Linked DNA regions of Homo sapiens: regions 1 and 2 are each linked to region 3. Evidence: promoter capture Hi-C in human tissues and cell types (Jung and others, 2019). All regions are on one chromosome and are shown on one strand. Each heading gives the region's core, a stretch centred on a gene start or on the middle of the fragment in contact. The rest is flanking DNA. Distances are from core to core; before and after follow the strand shown. Region 1 has its middle 97 kb from the start of CTAGE1. Region 2 has its middle 73 kb from the start of CTAGE1. Region 3 holds the start of CTAGE1 (cutaneous T cell lymphoma-associated antigen 1).

What was found. The method cuts DNA at HindIII sites, captures the fragments that hold promoters and counts their contacts. A contact is called where the count stands out against the background at its distance.
Region 1: a contact is called between a fragment that was not itself captured here and the fragment with the promoter of CTAGE1 in region 3, in 4 of the 25 tissues and cell types used here (IMR-90 fibroblasts, bladder, dorsolateral prefrontal cortex and 1 more).
Region 2: a fragment that was not itself captured here is called in contact with the fragment with the promoter of CTAGE1 in region 3 in 2 of the 25 tissues and cell types used here (dorsolateral prefrontal cortex and mesenchymal stem cells).

What each region holds. Positions count from the first base shown.
Region 1 is chr18:22,512,528-22,516,664 of GRCh38, forward strand. No RefSeq gene overlaps it. Among named protein-coding and RNA genes, the nearest start is that of CTAGE1, 97 kb to the left of the region's middle. The HindIII fragment of the contact is 5,805 bases long and covers 1-4,137 here.
Region 2 is chr18:22,488,506-22,492,550 of GRCh38, forward strand. No RefSeq gene overlaps it. Among named protein-coding and RNA genes, the nearest start is that of CTAGE1, 73 kb to the left of the region's middle. The HindIII fragment of the contact is 3,708 bases long and covers 233-3,940 here.
Region 3 is chr18:22,415,695-22,419,875 of GRCh38, forward strand. CTAGE1 (cutaneous T cell lymphoma-associated antigen 1) reads right to left here and starts at 2,221. Exons shown (of 1, transcript NM_172241.3): 1 at 1-2,221. The coding sequence starts at 2,117. It also overlaps the pseudogene ATP7BP1. The HindIII fragment of the contact is 3,989 bases long and covers 1-2,874 here.

The sequences.
Region 1 (4,137 bases), core at 837-3,336, 97 kb after region 3:
TCTCATTTATCAATTTTAGCTTTTGTTGCAATTGTTTTTGGTGTTTTTGTCATGAAATCTTTCCCCATGCCTATGCCCTGAATGGTATTGCCTAAGTTGTCTTACAGGGTTTTTATAATTTTGGGGTTTTACATTTATGTCTTTAATCCATCTTGAGTTAATTTTTGTATATGGTGTAAGGAAGAGGTCCAGTTTCAGTCTTCTGCATATGGCTAGCCAGATATTCCAGCACCATTTATGCAATAGGGAATCCTTTCCCCATTGCTTGTTTTTGTCAGGTTTGTTGAAGATCAGATCATTTTAGGTGTGCAGTCTTATTTCTGGGGTCTCTATTCTGTTCCACTGGTCTATGTGTCTGTTCTTGTACAAGTGCCTGCTGTTTTTGTTACTATAGCCCTGTAGCATAGTTTGAAGTCAGGTAGTGTAATGCCTCTAGCTTTGTTCTTTTTGGTTAGGATTGCCTTGGCTATTGAGGCTCTTTTTTGGTTCCACATGAGTTTTAAAATAGTCTTTACTTGTTCTGTGAAGAATGTCAATGGTAGTTTAATGAAAATAGTGTTGAATGTATAAATTGCTTTGGGCAGTATGGCCATTTTACTGATATTGATTCTTCCTATCCATGAGCATGGAAAGGTTTTCTTTGTTCGTGTCATCTCTGATTTCTTTGAACAGAGGTTTGGAGTTCTCCATATAGAGATCTTTCGCCTCCCCAATCAGCCATATTCCTAGGTATATTAATCTTTTTGTGGCAATTGTGAATGGGGGTTCATTCCTGATTTGGCTCTTGGCTTGATGGTTGTCGGTGTATAGGAATGCTAGTGATTTTTGCATATTGATTTTGTATCCTGAGACTTTGCTGAAGTTGTTTATCAGCTTCAGAAGTTTTGGGGCTGAGACAATGAGGTTTTCTAGATATAAGATCATGTCATCTGCAAACAGGGATAGCTTGACCTCCTCTTCCAGTACTATGTTGAATAGGAGTGGTGAGAGAGGGCATCCTTGTCTTTTGCCTGTTTTCAAGGGGAATGCTTCCGGCTTTTGCCCATTTAGTATGGTGTCGGCTGTGGGTTTGTCATAGATGGCTCTTATTATTTTGAGGTATATTTTTTCAATATCCAGCTTATTGGGAGTTTTAAACATAAATGAATGTTGAATTTTATAAAAAATCTTTTCTTCATCTATTAAGATAATCATGTGGTTTTTGTTTTTAGTTCCGTTTATGTGATGAATCACATTTATTGATATGCATATGTTGAATCAACCTTGCATCCCAGAGATGAAGCCTACTTCATTGTGGTGGATGAGTTTTTTGATTGCACCATATTTTCTTTATCCAATCCATCACTGATGGGCACCTGGGTTTATTTCATGTCTTCACTATTGTGAATAATGCTGTAATGAACACACGAGTGCATGTGTCTTTGGTAGAACAATTTATTTTCTTTTGACTATATACCCAGTAATGAGATTGCCCACTTTTTAATGAGATTGATTTTTCTTTCTTGTAAATTTGTTTAAGTTCCTTGTAGATTCTGCATATTAGGCCTTTGTCAGATGGATAGGTTGAAAAAATTTTCTCCCACTCTGTAGGTTGCCTGTTCACTCTGATGATAGTTTCTTTTGCTGTGCAGAAGCTCTTTAGTTTAATTAGATCCCATTTGTCAACTTTTGCTGTTGTTGCAATTACTCTTGGCAATTTCATCATATCCATATTCTGAATTCTACTTCTGTCATTTCAGCCATCTCAGCCTCATCCTGCTTCTGAACCCTTGCTGGAGAGGTGATGCTGTCCTCTAGAGAAAAGAGGGCATGCTGACTTTTTGTGTTTTCAGCATTCTTGCACTGCTTCTTTTTCAAATTTGTGCGGGCTTATTTACCTTCAATCTTTGAGGTTGCTGACCCTTGGATGGAGCGTTTTTTTCTTTTAACAGTCTGGCCACCTTTCCATAGGGCTGTTGTGGTTTGCTGGGGGTCCACTCTAGTCCCTAGTCACCTCGGATTTTCCAGTACCTGGAGGCATCACCAGTGAAGGCTGTGAAACAGCAAAGATGGCAGCCTGCCCCTTCCTTTGGGAGCTCCAACCCAGGGAGGTACGGACCTGTTGCTGGTCCGAACACACCTGTACATGGTGGCTGGAGACCCTGGTTGGGAGGTCTTGCCCAATCAGTCAGGAGGAACGGGATCAGGGTCCCACTTAAAGAAGCAGTCTGGCCATGCTTTCGTTGAGCATCTGTGCTGTGCTGGGGGATCCCTTCCTCCTTCCATCAGTTTGGACACTCCAAAGCCTGCAGGGTGGAATGGCTGAGTTGCCCAAACAGCAAAGTTGGCAGCCTGCCCCTCCCGCTGGGAGCTCTGTCCCAGGGAGAATTCAAATTTCTGTTAGCCAGAGAACACCAGCAGGGGTGGCTGGAGGCCCTGGTTGGGAGGTTCCACCCAGTGAGGAGAAAAGGGATCAGGGATCCAATTAAAGAAGCTTCTGTAGAGCAGCTGTGTTGTGCTGGGGTACTGCTTCTGCCCTGGTCGACTTGGGTTTTCCAAAGCCTTTAGGCTGGAACGGCTAAGTCACCCAAACAGCAAAGATGGCAGCCCACCTGTCCCTCTGGGAGTTCTGTCTCAGGGAGAATTCAAATGTCTGTCAGCTGGAGAAGACTAGTGGAGGTGGCTGGAGGCCCCAGTTGGGAGGTCAAGCCCAGTGAGGAGGAACAGATCCAGGACCCGCTTAAAAATGCAGTGGGGTCAAGTTTGGGTAGAGCAGCTGTGCTGTGCTGGGGGATCTCTTCCTCCCTCCATCAGTTTGGACTCTCCAAAGTTCGTAGGGTGGAATGGCTGAGTCGCCCAAACAGTAAAGATGGTGCTCCCCCCCGCCCCACCCCCAGGGACCTCTGTCCCAGGGAGGCGCAGCACTGCTGCTGGTGGCTGAAATTCCAAGCCAGTGGGTCTTATCCTGTGAGGTGCAATGGAAGTGACTGCTCCACTCCCTGGATTCAGCCTCTTTCTTAGGGTTATGTACGGGGGTCTATTCTCCCGCTTTGCTAGAGTTGCAGTTACTTTTGCTGGGAAGCCGGGAGCCGGAGTATCGAAAGCTCCAGGTCTCCACATATGCCTCAGTGGCTGCTCTGTGAGACTCCACATAGCTCTCTGTGCCGGACTGAAGGCCCTGGTGGAGTGGCTTCTGAGGGGATCTCCTGACCTGAGGGTTGCAAAGATCCGTGGGAGGAGCATGGTTTCCCAGGGTGGCACATTCACTCGCCACTTCCCTGGGCAGGGGAGGTTCCCTTGCCTCCGTGTCACTCCCAGGTGGGCCATCATCCTGCCTTGCTTTTCTCCGTTCTCTTTAAGTTGTTTCCTTTATTAGTTCCAATGCAAGTACCTGGATGTTTCAGTTGAAGGTGCTGCATTTACTCGCCCCTTTCATTCCTCTCTGTGAGAACCATGCACCCTAGCTGCTTCTAGTCGGCCATCTTGGCTGTGCCCTGGATAATTTTTCTTGTTTCCTCTTAGGGGAAGAGGGTTTTCAGGGGTCCTTACTCCACCATTGCAGAAGTTCTGCCTCTTATTTCCCTTCATTTATCATGCAAAAGGCACTATAAAATATATACTCTTTTTGGTACTTGCTTTTTCCCCCAATTTACCAATATATCTTAGAAATAATTCCATATAAGTTTACAGAGATCATTTTAAATTTTTAAACTCCATTTAAAAAACTCCTTTGTGTGAACGTACTGTTATTTATTAAACTAATCTTACATCTATGTGCTTTTAAATTACTTCTTCAAGATAATTTATCTTTAATACTTAAAGTTACATGATGCTAGATGCTGTACTAAGTATCTTTATGCATTATCTGATTTAATCCTCAAATAATAATTATAAATAGTAATAATAATTCCTGAATAATAATTTAAAGTAGATATAGCTGTAGGTGGTATCTTGTTTTACCATGAGAAACTGATGCCTATTGAGATGAAGAAAGCTGCCTAAGGTTACACAGCTAGAAGGTGATGAAACCAGGTCCAGATTTCTCATCTCTCTGACACCAAAGCTCTTGCTGTCACTTACTATGTCACATATTGAAGAAAGCCCTTGATAATCAAAAGCCACCAGCCCTGAGTCCCCGGTTTGGCACTGGAGCAATGC
Region 2 (4,045 bases), core at 837-3,336, 73 kb after region 3:
TAAAACTTTTTGTAAAAAGAGACATTATTCTCTAATTCTAAATCTACATTGGATTTTCTTAAAGGAAAGTTCAACTGTAATTATTTTCCTGGAGAGGAAAAGTGATGTCAAGCCACCCTGATGAGAGCCTGGTGTGGGAACAGCTTGTCTGGCCTCTTGGGATCTCTGGGGAAAGTAGACGGAGATGAGGAATAGACACGTATTCCAGAACTGGACTTCGAATGGGCCTTTGGCCAAACTTGGCCCAATTTCTCAACAGAGAGAAAGCACTGACCCAAGCTGAAGACTGATTCACAGCCAACCTGCTTTGGACACGTTGTCCTCTGCCAGGCAAGCCAGCGCCCTATCCCTGAGGCACTTGCTGGCCAGGGGAAGGAAATGCTGGGAGAGGAAGCCTTGCTCTTTCCCCCTTTGCTGCATAGTTCCAGCTTTTGTGCAGCTCTCATGTTTGGGGATAGGGGAGGAAGGGAGAAGACTGGGAAGTGGGAGGAGGGGGACAAGGCCACCCATGAAGATGCAGGGAAAGCCAGCAAAGGCCAGGAGGGAGTCATTGCAGAAGAAGAGAATAATGTGAATGAACTTGGGGACAAAGGGGAAATAAGGAAGGGGTTCAGGGAAACCTCACAAACTAGATGGAAAAGAAAGAGGAAGGGGAAATTCCCAGGATAGAAAGTAAACCAGGAAGAGACGAAGAGGAGGGCTTCTCCAGGTGTGACCCACACCCCAAATTCAAACATTCTTGATTTAGAAAAATGTCCTGTGATTCATTCTCCAATGGGAAGTCCACTGTGTAGAAATTTTCTTTAACAATTTCTTCTTGACATGCTCCTGGAATTATAAGGAATTTGGGCATGAGAGCTCCTTTTCCAAAAAGATTCATGAGAGGACTTCTTCCTCGGTGCTGACTGCATTTGGAAGAGCAGTTGAATTAGGAATGGCTTGCAAAAATGTTAGTAGGGATGGAAGAGAGTGTTGGAGACGAGGAGTGATTAATATTCAAAATTCAGGTTTGTGTTCAATTTTGAAGTCACTGTTTTAGTTTTGATATCAATGTAAGGAGTGTAAGACCTGTGTAAATGGGATATCAGGTTAAAAAATCCAGCCTGCTCCATCCTGAGGAGAGCACAAATACATGGGACTCACAGATAATTCAAATGTTGACTTCACTACTCCAGCTGTCAAAGCAGTTCTGAGCGAGAACAAGACTGTTTGTAGGAACTCTAGTTCTTTTGCATTACCTGTCTTCCTGGAGGTAGAATCATCAGGAAGAAGAAACCAAGAGGAGCAGAATCAGATGGGTGAAGTAACCCGTGCATTATGTAAACAATCTTTGGCCCATAACCTAGGGTGAGCCAACATATTAATATTTAACTACTAACTCACAGGATCAACCAATCAGATTTGGCCCTGGACATAGCCCCAATCAGCCCTGGAGATAACATTCCCATGGCAACACTAATGCATTCTTCACTGAATGGTTGGCAACACTAATGCACTTACTCATTTAAGATTCTTTGTTTAATGTATGTCTTCCCCTCCAGACTGTAAGCCTATTGAAGGGTTTCCCTAGCATGTTGTGGGTGCTCAATAAATAACTATTGTCTGACGGCAAATACCACACCCCTGAGCCATATGGAAGACATCTCCCCTCATGGTGTTGTGGCTAATTCAGAAGTGGCATAGAGTCATGAAAAAGTGCTTCACATCAGGACAGCAGCTCAGCTCCTGACCTGGTTCTGCTTTTCTCTCACTGTGTGACTTTGGACAAGTCATCTCCTCTCCCTCTACCTCTGACTCCTTTGCTATGAAATGACAGGATTGGATTTGATGATCTCTGAGGCCGATTTCAGCTCTAATACTCAGTGGTTCAGCACACCCATAAAGTGCACAGCAGAGGTTTGTTTGTGACCAAAACAGAATGTTAGGAACTGAAAAAACTGCCAAAGACCACTTTAGAGGAAAAGTGGAAACAAGGTTTTGTGTGAAATATGCTTGGCTTGCACAATGCAAGTGATTCTTTTGTGAGAGCGGAAGGCCATAGGGTGTGATTACTTTATCTGCCACTAAGCTTCCTGGGCAGCCCAGGCCAAGCTAAAGATACCTATCACTCTTGTTCAAGGTCCGTTTCCTACTGAGTTGTCACACTGTTGAATTATTGTTGAGTTGAAGTCCAAAAGGGGAAATATTTTGCAATCTAGAGTTGGACCCTGGAGCTATACAACTATGATTACTGATACAGATTTTCCCAGAAAATCTCAGTGCACCGAGGTCATACCAAGGAGCCCTCATACTTCTGTATGCTACTGTCAGCTTACTCTGCTGGTGGTGCTGAAGTTCCGTGAACATTTTCCCCAATGAGCAAGTAAAAACATTTCATTTTGCCTCTTCCTGAACCATTTTTTTAAAAGTTTTTATATGGAATAAATCTTTACATTAAAAAAGATACACAATAGCATTTACTTTTAAAAATAAAATTTAAAATATGATGTGTATATTTAAGGTATACAACATTATGTTATGGGATACATATAGATAGTAAAAAGGTTACTATAATAAAACAAATATATTCAGCATCTCACAGAGTTATCCCCATTGCCCTGCCCCTTTGTTTGGTAAGAGCAGCTAAAATCTACTCATTTAACAGGACTCCTAAATGCATAAAATTTTATTAATTACAGTCCTCCTGTACATTAGAGCTCTAGGCTTATTCATTCTAATATATGCTACTTGATAACCTCTGACCTACATCTTCCCATTTGTTCCCCTTTTCCCTAACCCCTGGTAACTACTGTTTTATTCTCTGTGTTTGTATATTTGACTTTAATTTTGGTTTAGATTCTACATACAAGTGATATCATAAAATGTTTTTCTTTCTATGCCTGGCTTACTTCATCTAGTGTAATATCCTCCAGTTCCATCCAAGTTGTGGCAAATGGCAGGATTTCCTTTTTTAAGGCTGAATAACATTCTATTGGATGGATAGCTAGATGATGATAGATAGATAGATAGATAGATAGATAGATAGATAGATAGATAAAGAGTGTCCTGTGTACTGAGTCAGAGGACACATATATCTGTTTCTTTATCCATTTGTCCATTGATGGACACTTAGGTTGTTCCCATATCTTGACTATTGTGAATAATGCTGCAACAAACATGGGTGTGCAGATATCTTTATGAGGTGGTGATTTCATCTCCTTGGGTATATAATCAGAAGAGGGATTACTATGTTAAATGGTCATTCTATTTTTAATCAATTTTTTTGAGACAGGGTTTCACTTCATTGCTCAGGCTGGAGTGCAGTGGCATGATCATGGCTACTGTAGCCTCAACCTCCCATGCTCAAGTCATCCTCCCACCTCAGCCTCCCAAGTAGCTAAGACTACAGACATGTGCCACCATGCTGGGCTAATTTTTTAGTTTTTTGTAGAGATGTGAACTCACCATGTGGCTTAGGTTTTTCTTAATTTGTCTAGGAACCTCCATATTGTTTTCCATAATGCTTGCGCCAATCTACATTTCCACCAACAATGTACAATTTTTCCCTTTTCTCCACACCCTTGCTGACATTTTTTATCTCTTGACTTTTATGATTATCATCCTAATGGACATGAGGTGAAATAAGCTTTTAAAAAAACCTTTTTTTATGTAGCTCTGTTTAAAAAGCACTTTAGGAAGAAGGACATATTTGTCTGCACAAAAAGAGTATCCTGTGTACTGAGTCAAAGGATGACAAGCCCATAGCTCCTTGAATCTTAACACAGATGCTACTATGACTATTAGCTTTTAAACTCCTGCCATCCTCAGAGAGCCTATGATAGTGATGAAGAAAGAATTATATAACATGACGGGTTCAAAGATCCCAGGACAGGTATCAAAACCCCAGCTTCCAAACCAGTTGCGTGTATTCCTCTGAGCAAATCCCGGCCTCTCTGAGCCACTGTTGACTCCCATGTGAACCGTTCATCCAGGTGCCCAGAAGCTCTGCGTTCTGTGGAGCCTTAGAAGTCCAGGTGGGAGGCAGGTGGAAAGAGAGAAGGACCAA
Region 3 (4,181 bases), core at 971-3,470:
GGAGAAAAATAATCTGGAGAAGCTCCAAACACGGTTCCTGGAGGAGGTGGGGGGAAAGGAGGTCCTCTTCTTATGAACGGGCCCCTTGTATCTACTGGAAACAATAAACCTCTGATTGGAGCAAGAGGTGGAGGAACAAAGCCAGGGCCAGTTGCTTCATTTTCAGCGGGGAGAGATGAATCAGGCACCTTTAAATTACCAAGATTATCTTTGGTATCATTTCTACTGGATTCCATTTCTGAAGGCATTGACCCATCCATTTTATCCAAAGAAGGCATATTAAAACTTCTGAGTTCTGCTGGTCCAGAGAGTCTAGCACAATTAGAATAAAATCTGTCTTGCCTTTGTGGAGGGAGAGCTGAATCAGGATATGATTGTCCTGGTGGAGGAAACATCATCCTATAGTCCTGTTCCCACGGAGGTGCCAGGGGCCCAGCGTCAGAAGGAGCCCTGTGAGGATCAGTTAACCTATCACAGCTTGATTCTCCTCTTTCTTTGGTAATCTGATGGTCCGGAGGATTCCCTGGGCCTCTGGAGCCTCTTCCTCCTCCCCGTGGAAGCAAAGGTGAGAGTCTGAGAGGACCTTCCAACAAAGTTGGAGGATAGAGAGAAGCTCTCGTTTCAGATGAAGGCCAACCCAATGGTGAGGGACCATATGGGGAATGCTGTCTGCCAAATGCTGTATTTGGAACATCAAGTCCATAAGGATCTTTTTCTAAAAGTTTTATTTTAAACTCTATTTCAGTTAATTTTTGTCTGTTGTGAGCATTTTCTTTCCTTAAATCATTGAGGTTTCTTTCAGCAGTCCAAGCTGCCGACCAATTATCATGTGCTTTTTTCTCATGGAGAATAATCTTCTTTTGATAAAAATGAATAGTTTTCTCAAATTCTTTAAGATCTTTGGCTCGCTTTCGGTAGGTCTCCAGCTCTTCAGTGGCATGGCTGATCATTTCGTCTACTTTAGAAAGTTTCTCTTCTTTCTCTAACCGGCATTTTTCCTCTACTATTAATTTCCTGTAGAGTTTCATTTCATTTTCTTGATATAATTCAGTCATTACTTTAAGTTTCTGCTGAAGCTTCTGATTCTCACTTTCAAAATGTGTGTTTTCTGACTGCAAAGATGCTTGTTCAGTCTGAAGATTTTTAATATGCTCTGTAAGCTCTTCCTTTGTTTTATCAACTTCAGATAATTGAATATAAATTTGGTTTCTTTCTCCTTCTAAGGTTTTTAAGGAAGCATTTAACTTAGCAGCATGAATCAGTTTCTTCAAAGCTCCTTTTGGAGGATTATCTAAGTAAGCACCATCTTCCGATTCACTGTTCATTTCTAATTCCAAGTTATCATCATCCGTTACATCTTCTTCAAGCATAGCAACCCCATCTTTCATCTTTAGCAAGCGTTCAGTCAGAGTCTTGATGTGATTTTCTTTATCATTTAGAACTTGTTCTGCATGTACTTTGGAGTCTTCAAATGTTCTTTTCTGTTTAATAAGTTCACTCACTTGTTCTTTCCATACTTCAGCTTCTTGCAAAAGCTGTTTCTGGCTTTCCTGAAGTTCAGAATTTTCTTTCCAAGCATCTTGTATTTCTATCTCCAACCGTTCTTCATTCGCTTGAAATCTCTTGAAGGTCATTTTGGCTTCAGCTACTTGTGATTTGAGGGATTTTGACTCATCTTCTAGCGACTGTATCCTTTTGGAAATATCCGCCATCAATTCATTTTGTTCAGAATGTTTAGATTTCTCTTCTTTTAACTCTTTTTCTAGACAGAGTATTTCATGCACAAGTTCAGAATTGAACCTGTTCAGCTTTTCGCAGGTTGCCTCCAAACTTTGTGCTTCTGTTGCCTCCTTCTCAAAGCTGGCATTCTTTAAAGATGACTCTACTTCATAGCCTTCATACTCTTTTTGAACAAGGCTAAATTTTTCAAGTAGTTTACATTTTTCTTCAATTAGTCCAGAAAGTGCCACAGCAAACTTTTTCTCTCTTCTCACATAAAGCCGACTCGTAACTGATCTAAAACTTCTCCACAAGAAGAGAACAGCAAAAAATCCAGCAACAGCTGCACGTATCACCAATTCCCATGGAAAACCATAAGGATGAGAATCGGGTCTCATACCTTCAGTCAGTGCTGCCACAACCCTGCGTAGCAACTCCAGGACCAGCCCCAGGTATGGCTGAGGGTTAGCCCTAGGCTCCTCCGTAGCGCCAAGGCTGCTCTGGCGGTTGCTGCAGTAACCTCGGCCACAACAAACGCTGGAGAAGACGCAGCATTCCGTTTGGAACCTGAATCCCTAACGGGCAACCGGAGCGTACCACTGCGGAGCCGGCTGCGGGGGGAGTTAGGGGACGCGGGCACCCGTAGGCCTCACAGACCCACACTGCCCACCCCGGTACCTTTGTTACACTTTACATCCTGAGGAAGCGCTAAAACCTATATTTTAAAACAGTACCACATGGTGAGAAAGACTCAGGTGACCCAGCATCCCAGCTATGCCCATCCCAAGCTGACACCCTAGCTAAATGTAGCCTTGTGCATGACCCCAGGTGGGGCGGGCAGAAGAACCTCCCAGCTGACAGAATGATAAGGAATAACAAATCATTGTTTTAAGTCACTAAGCTTTGGGGTCATTTGTTATGCAGCAGTAGCTAACTGAAATACCTGCCCCCTTATCCCTTTGGTGTTTCAGTATCTGTGGCTGAAATAATGAATTTGGGTGCTTGACTAAGATTATGCCCTATGGTAAATTCTGATAGGTAATTTTATAGCTAAAATACAAATTTTCTGATTGACCTTTGCTTCATTGAAGAGATATTTATTTAGCTCCTCCCAAATGAGACAGATTATGCTTTTTAGATTAACTTCTTCCAGGAAAGGGCTCACCACTCCCTAGCATGAGCCTCAGCTGTCCCATGTACAACTGAAAAACGCTAATCTCATCCCCAGAAGATCCAGGACTCTTAGAACAGTGCTGGCACATAGAGAGTGATTCTCTTACCTGTCCATCAAACTTACCTGCTCTGTGTCCATTTCTGAAACACTGGCACTCCTTCAACACGGATGACGCCTTGCCCTGCAATAAGTCATCATCTCCCGCCCATGCACATATCTTCAACTCATCTGGAAAGCTTGCTCCTGCAGCAATGGGTATGCCCACTAGGTTATAAATCAGCGCCAGGACCAGTTTGATGCATATCCTCTGGACAGTCATCTTGGAAATATGAATGCTAGCCACCACATCCAGCAAATCATTTTTGATGAGGATGACGTTGGCTGCCTCGATGACCACATCCGTGCCAGTGCCAGTGGCAATGCCCAAGTCTGCCTGGGCCAAGGCCAGGGAATCATTGACCCCGTCCCCCACCATGGCGACTTTCTTCCCTTCATTCAGGAGCTCCTGAACCTTGGTCACCTTGTGTGAAGGCAACACCTCTGCAAAGACTTTGTTGATGCCAACCTGGGTGGCAAAGGCTCTGACTGTCTTCCAGTTGTCCCCCGTGATCAGAATCACGTTCACATGCATGCTTTGCAGCATGTGCACAGCCAGGGCAACCTCCTGCTTGACAGTGTCTGTGACAGCCATCATTCCACAGAGCACACCTCAACAACTTGCACAAGCACCAGCTCCCTTTGCCATCTTCCGCCCGCATATTTGTATAGTTCTTATATTTTCATTATTAAAAGACAACAAGCTGACTGCATTAGAATTTAAAGGCCTCTGGGTGACAAAACCGTTATAAGCAAAATAAGTAACAGATTTGGAAAATATATGCAACATATAAATTGACAAAGGAATAATATTCAGAATATATAAAGAACTAGGCTGGGTGCGGTGGCTCATGTCTATAATCCCAGCACCTTGGGAGGCCAAGGCAAGAGGATCACTTGAAGTCAGGAGTTCAAGGCCAGCCTGACCAACATGGTGAATCCCCGACTCTACTAAAATTACAAAAATGAGCCAGGTGTGGTGGTGGACGCTTGTAATCCCAGCTACCCAAGAGGTTGAGGTAGGAGAATCTCTTGAACCTGGGAGGTGGAGGTTGCAGTCAGCTGAGATTGCACCACTGCACTCCAGCCTGGGCAACAGAGCAAGACTTTGTCTCAAAAGAAAAAACAAAAGAACTACAAATCATTAATAAAAATATAGTTAATTGAGTAGAAACAGTAGACAAAAGTATGT